2 separate regions of the Homo sapiens genome follow, and region 1 is linked to region 2. Evidence: promoter capture Hi-C in human tissues and cell types (Jung and others, 2019). All regions are on one chromosome and are shown on one strand. Each heading gives the region's core, a stretch centred on a gene start or on the middle of the fragment in contact. The rest is flanking DNA. Distances are from core to core; before and after follow the strand shown. Region 1 overlaps NPEPL1 (aminopeptidase like 1). Region 2 holds the start of NELFCD (negative elongation factor complex member C/D).

The links. The method cuts DNA at HindIII sites, captures the fragments that hold promoters and counts their contacts. A contact is called where the count stands out against the background at its distance.
Region 1: a fragment that was not itself captured here is called in contact with the fragment with the promoter of NELFCD in region 2 in 1 of the 25 tissues and cell types used here (spleen).

Annotation. Positions count from the first base shown.
Region 1 is chr20:58,703,920-58,707,102 of GRCh38, forward strand. All of the region lies in intron 6 of NPEPL1 (aminopeptidase like 1), which reads left to right. It overlaps STX16-NPEPL1 (STX16-NPEPL1 readthrough (NMD candidate)), which reads left to right. Exons shown (of 23, transcript NR_037945.1): 17 at 1,579-1,650. Among named protein-coding and RNA genes, the nearest start is that of NPEPL1, 13 kb to the left of the region's middle. The HindIII fragment of the contact is 8,020 bases long and covers 1-3,183 here.
Region 2 is chr20:58,979,955-58,983,580 of GRCh38, forward strand. NELFCD (negative elongation factor complex member C/D) reads left to right here and starts at 1,302. Exons shown (of 15, transcript NM_198976.4): 1 at 1,302-1,415. The coding sequence starts at 1,356. RefSeq lists a silencer at 1,158-1,637 and an enhancer at 1,560-2,060. The HindIII fragment of the contact is 13,643 bases long and covers 1-3,626 here.

The DNA.
Region 1 (3,183 bases), core at 664-3,163, 280 kb before region 2:
CAGACCCCATAATACCAGGAAGAGCTGGGTGTTCTGGCACCAGTGAAACAATACCTGGTTTTTTATTTTAAACCAGCCCATCTTCCCCGCTGCAGTTGGAACCGTTCTACGTGGATTTGGGATCAACCAGCAGGCCTTTCCTGAGCTGTTACTGTGTGGAGTGGGCGCTGAGGCTCCAGCCATTGATGCAAAGACCCCAATCCTGACCTGAAGGCGCTCACAATCTCTCCCCAACGGCCTGGTGTGAAACGCAGACGCAACGCAGCAGGCATTCTCCCCAGTGGCTGCCTGTAGAGCAAATGGTGCAGAAATGGTCACTCCTCAAAAAGCAAGCCGGCTGGAGCCAGCCCAGCTCCCAGTTTTGCAAGAAAAAAAAAATCACAGCTCCATTTTCAAAGATTTCAAGGGCAGCTCAAGACCAGCCTGGACTAGCAGGCCTCAAATGCATTACTGGAGACCCCTTTACGCTCTTAACAAGTACCGACCCCAAAGAGGCTTTTTGTATAACAATGTCTATTGATATTTACTCTACTGGAAATTAAAAGTGAGAAATTTATAACATGTATAATTCATTAAAAATAACATATAAATCCATTGCATGTTATCATAAATAATTTTATGAAGATAAGCATCTTCCAAAATGAAAAAATAATTTACTGAGAGAGTAGCATTGTTGTACATTTTCACAAATCCTGTCAGTGTCTGGCTTAATAGAAGACAGCTAGGGACCTTGCGTCTGCTTCCGATGTAGTCTATGGAAATGTGTTGTTTCAGTTGAACTGTATCAAGAAAATCTGGCCTCACGCATTTTATAGTTGAAACAGGGAAAAGGATTTTAGTACCTTTTTCAGCTAACTAACTATGAACATTCTTTGCTACTACACCAAAACTCAACAAGTGGTAGCTTCTTAAAGGCTGGTTATAACATGGAATCTGAAGCCTCATGAATAGACTTTTGGGCTCTGTGGCAGTTAAATCCGCTGTTCTCTCTCACTTTGAACATGTGGTTTTTCATGGAAAAATGAATGTTCACTTGAAAAATGTTGGTTCACAGAGTTCTGCAGAAATTCAAATTTTTGACACATTACATTATATAGTATCAAAAAATCACTTAATATCACCATCCATCTCATCAGAAAACTCATTATGAGGAAGTTGTCATGGTGATAGGAGAAAGTTTTTCAAAATTCTGATTTTTGCTTAAAAGCTCAAATGTATACCATTGGCAATAAATAATGTCAGCTGTTTCTGGAAGTAAGAGGCTCAGTTTGTTCCTTTTCTGGGAAATATCTGCCAGATACCTAAATCCAATTAAATGCCATTTGTCTGTCAGTTTTTCTTTCAAGTAAAGATGGTGTCGTGGCCAGAGTGGCTCATGGAGCTCAGAACTCCCCCAGCAATCACAGCTGAGCTTCTGCTCTGACCGACCACTGCCCGTCAGCAACAGCAGGAGTACATTATGAGTCACACGGAATATGGAAAATGTATTGTACCCAAGGGTTGAGAGTTTTAAAAATTAATTTTACTGCTTCAGCAAGGAAATTCTAACGTGAAATTGGCATTGGTTCATTTTCCCAGAGGGCACGGAAACGAATACAGTGGCTCCCGGACCTCTTTGGGACTGTGGCCTGATACTCCAGCACAGGGGGTGTAAGTGTCAGCCCCGTGAAAAAGGCAGAGACCGTCTTAAATCACTGCGAAAATGGTTTCTTCTATAAAAACAGAAACAACATATGGGGGCTGGTGAAACTTTGCACAATCAATCAGTTGAGCTGTATTTGCAAGCCCAGTCCTGGCTCCACCTGCAATTGGGAAGGAGCTGGCAGCTGTGACGGGGGAGACATGGTGTACAGTGAGCAGCCGTTTCCAGGCATTGCTGTGTGACCCATTTTGCACATGGTTTGATTCCAGATCGGAGGCCCTGTTTTTCCATTTAAACAATCCTGTGCTTTCTCAAACAGATTAGCTCAGAAGAGATGGCTTATTTTCAGTAGTACAAGATGGGTCATTTTCACTCAATTATAAAAGCAGCTCAATTTACATCTAAAAATACTTTGCACTAAAATTCAAAGCTTGTGTAATAAGATAAGGGTTCAAAAATGATTCAGTAAATTTCATACCCAAACCTTTACCTCTGAGGACCTGCTGTTAATTTAAAATATGAACTTGTGAATTTGATTTGGGAACCTGTAAAATGTAAAAATGTGTAACACTGTCAACCAGCGTATAGGAAACAGTGTGGACACTGCAGGAGAAGGGTGGCCCCTCTTTAGACCCAGGTTAACCAGGAGGTGTGAACTATTAACCAGGAGGTGTGAACTAGCAGGAGGGCAGAGGTGGCCCCTTCTTCTGGCGATAGACCTGGCAGTGACATGAAGGAGCGACAGGTGTCCTCACTGCTGGTGGTGTCAGTGGGGGTGGATGTGACTGATTTTGGCGAAGAGTTCACATCAACCCTCACCATCATTCAAGGTTGTGATGAGGGGCAGAGAATGCTGAGCCTAAGTCTCGTTAGGTGGTAAAGCCCTCTAAGTGCCAGGGAGAGGAAGCTAGGCCCTGTTCTGGGGGGCGACAGGTGGCCAGGGCAGGTTTGCATTGCGGCAGCAGCCCCTCAGGCTTCCTCCCTGCCATAAGCACACTAGGAATCTGCAATGGGTGCAGGAAGCACGCAAGCCCACCCAGGTCCCTGAGGTGCTGGCCAGGGACCTCCAGCAAGCCCCAGAGGCTCCCTGGACCTCAGCTTCCTTCTCACGCTGTGCGGAGGAGTGGAGAGAGTGGCCCTGCAGACAGACCCCCAGGCGGCGTGGCAGCCCGGGACTGAGGTCAGGGTGCCCGGCGTCAAAGCACGGGGTCCCTGTTTCAATGTCAGAGCCCGGCCACAGCGAATTCTGCAGCTCCGGGCATCTCCTCGGGTTCCCCCTCCGTGCAGTTACTGTTTGATAACCCCAAAGTTCTGTCAAAACAAAAGGGAGCCTCACCATCTATGGCCATGACTCCCTGTTGCTTCTGGAGAACACCCCACTTGGCCAATATGAGGTTCATGAGTTCTGTGGGTGCCCAGGAGGCCTGGTGTGGGGGCTGCCCAGGCCTGAGAGCTGGGGAAGGTGGGGCTAGCGTGGGGCCGGGTGGGGGTGGGGGGCTTCCGCTGCCAGGCCTGGACCTCACAGCTCACCTTTGTCCTGG
Region 2 (3,626 bases), core at 52-2,551:
CCGAATCTAAAATTAAAACAAAACAAAAACACAACAACCAAACAAAAACCTTTCCGTGATCATCAGGAGGCTGTCATATTCTCACCCCCTACTTCACGCTGGGAATCGAGCTGCGGGCTTTACAACAGCGTCAGCTGCTCCCTTTGGCAACGACCAGAGAGGTCCTTTCTCCAGAGATTTTTGTCAGCTCTGGGCACTTTTGCTTTGTGGGCCTATCTTCCACTTTATAAAAAATTAAAAATGCTACTTTCCACTGCATTCAGTACTTTTTCTTCTCTTTTCTTTTTTCTTTTCTTTTCTTTCTTTCTTCTTTCTTTCTTTTTCTTTTTCTTTTTTTTTTTTTTTTTGACACAGTTTCACTCTGTTGCCTAGGCTGGAGTGCGGTGGTGTGATCTTGGCTCACTGCAACCTCCACCTCCTGGGTTCAAGCGGTTCTCGTGACTCAGCCTCTTGAGTAGCTGAGACTACAGGCGCCCGCCACCATGCCCAGCTAATTTTTGTGTTATTAGTAGAGAAGGGGTTTTACCATGTTGACCAGGCTGGTCTCGAACTCCTGACCTCAGGTGATCCGCCCGCCTCGGCCTCCCAAAGTGTTGGGATTACAGGCGTGAGCCACCGTGCCCTGCCCTTTTTATGTATGTATTTATTTATTTGAGATAGGGTCTCGCTCTGTCGCTCAGGCTGGAGTGCAATGGTGCGATCTTGGCTCACTGCAACCTCCGCCTCCCGGGTTCAAGCGATTCTCCTGCCTCAGTCACCCGAGTACCTGGGATTACAGGCGCATGCCACCACGCCCGGCTAATTTTTGTATTTTGAGCAGAGACGGGGTTTCACCATGTTGGCCAGACTGGCCTCGAACTCCTGACCTCAAGTGATCCGTCAGCCTCGGTCTCCCAAAGTGCTGGGATTACAGGCGTGAGCCCCCACGCCCGGTCGCGTTTAGTACTTTTTACCAAAACTAAAAGAAATTAAAACACTTTCGTGGGTCCTGGACACTTCCGGAAGGATTTGTTTCCAGCTGCCAGATGAGGAAACTGGGGCTCGCAGAGCCGGCGCCGCAGGGGAGGGGCTGTGCACGAATCCAGTGGGAAACCTCTCTCCGGAGCTAAGCCCCTGGTCCACCCGGGCATCGCTCCGGGATCGACTGGGGGCGTTCCTTCCGCCGGTCCCCTTTGTTCCCAGTGCCGAGCCCGCGGCCCTGCCCTTCCTCCAGGCCCCGCCCCTTCTTCCAGGCCCCGCCTCCCGCCCGGGCCGAGGCGCGCGGCCGCGCGTGCGCCCGCCCGCCCGTCCCCGCCTCGCGCATGCGCCGCGCTCGCTCGCGGGAGGGCATGGCGGGGGCCGTGCCGGGCGCCATCATGGACGAGGACTACTACGGGAGCGCGGCCGAGTGGGGCGACGAGGCTGACGGCGGCCAGGTGAGGCGGGGCACTGGGCGCACCCTAGAGAGAATCGTTCGTCTCCGCCGCCGGCGGGCCGGCCCCACTCCCGGAGAGGCCGCGCGGCGCGAGGCTGCGGGCGTGCGGGGGGTGTGCGCGCGCACGGCCCGCGCGGTCACCGTGTGGTTCAAGCACAGCCCGCCCCGCCCCCGCCCGCCCGGGGTCCCGCGGCGCGGCCGCCGGGGTCCCCGCCTCCTCGCCTGCAGGACCTTGGGGTGGGGGTGAGGCGCCGGAGGCTCTGGCGCGGGGCGGCCCGAGGCCCCCAGTACCCCCTCGCTCCGGCCAGGCCCGGCGCCGGCCCTGCGACCCCCGCGGCGGGCGGGACACCAACGCTAAGGTGGAGGGTTGGGTCCGGAGCTCACAGACTTTTAAACAAAAATAAAGTGGAAAAACTTCACAGCAGCATCATGAGGAAAAAGTAGAACTTAGGGCATTCCTACATGTGCTTTACTGTTTTATAAACTGTACTCTTCAGCACCTTGGGCTGATTTCATCTGTTTTTGGGCAAACTGATGGAAAGGATTTTCGGGCCTTGACCTTCCAGGGTTTGGGGTGGAAGCCCAGGAGGGATCACTGTTCCACCCTGAGGACAGGGACTGCAGAGCCAGGGCAGGTAGCTCTAGTCTGGACAGTGTGTCCCCACCTTACTCTAAAGACCCAACTGAGGCGCATGATTGAAATGTAGCTTCTCACGTCCCTCCCCTGGAGACGGCCCAACAGTTGGTCTGGACGGGAGCCTGGGAACTTGCATTTTTTTTTTTTTTTTTTTTTTTTTTTTTTTTTGTGGTGGAGTTTCGCTCTTGTTGCCCAGGCTGGAGTGTAATGGCGCCATCGCGGCTCACTGCAACGTCTGCCTCTCGGATTCAAGCGATTCTCCTGCCTCAGCCTCCCGAATAGCTGGGATTACAGGCACCCACCACCATGCCCAGCTAATTTTTAAAATTTTGAGTAGAGAGGGGGTTTCACCTTGTTGGCCAGGCTGGTCTCAAACTCTTGACCTCAGGTGATCCACCCACCTCTGCCTCCCAAAGTACTGGGATTACAGGCGTGAGCCACTGCTCGTGGCCCAGGAACTTGCATTTTTAACAACAATCAAGATTGGGGATGTCTGGTGCATTTTGAAGTGGTATTATAAGGGAATAAAGGATGAAGTGGGGCTTACGTTGATAAACATGGGTGGTGGTGTGATGGCGGCTTCGGAGCCATGGTCTAAAATGCCAAGGCGGGCGATGTGTTTCTGGAACTGAAAGAAGCCCTGTGATGTTAGCTGCCTGGTGGAAGCAGTGGCAGGAGGTCAGTAGGGAGCAGGTTCTGAAGATCCTTGGAGAGCTGCTGAATGGTATGGCTTGTTCAGGAGTTTGGGGCAGGGAGTGACACGAGTAGATTTGCATGTTGGATCATTTCACAGTGTTGGAGGCTTAGGGTGGAGTGGATAGAGTCAGACTTAGCTAACTGAGAGCTTGGGCCATGTGTGTCATGCGTTATCCCCTTCCACACACAGGATTTTGAGTTGGGTGTTACCCTACTTATCTGGTAAGTGTAGAAAATGAGACGAAAAGACTTACTGACCTGCCCAAGGTCATGAAACTAATAAAGGAAGGAGAGGGGACCCAAACCCACATCCTTTGCCTCCGTTGCCACTTCGTCAAATTGCTGACTACCAAAGTGGTCCAGATGAGAAGGTGTGAATTAGCTTAGTGGTAGGTTGGTGTTTGGGGCATCTAGTATATCACCTTGAGCCTTTTTTTCTTTTTTTTTTTTTTTGAGACAGAGTCTCGCTTAGCTGCTCAGGCTGGAGTGCAGTGGCTTGATCTCAGCTCGCTGCAACTGCCATCTCCTGGGTTCAAGCAATTCTCCCGTCTCAGCCTCCTGAGTAGCTGGGATTACAGGCATCCGCCATCATGTCCGGCTAATTTTTGTATTTTAGTAGAGACAGTGTTTCACCACGTTGGCCAGGCTAGTCTTGAACTCCTGACCTCAGGTGATCCGCCTGCCCCGGCCTCCCAAAATGCTAGGATTACAGGCGTGAGCCACCGCACCCGGCCTTTTTTTTTTTTTTTTTTCTTTGAGACGGAGTCTCACTCTGTCACCCAGGCTGGAGTGCAGTGGTGCCATCTTGGCTCACTGCAACCTCCACCTCCTGGGTTCAAGTGATTCTCCAAGTAGCTGGAATTACAGGCCGGTGCCACC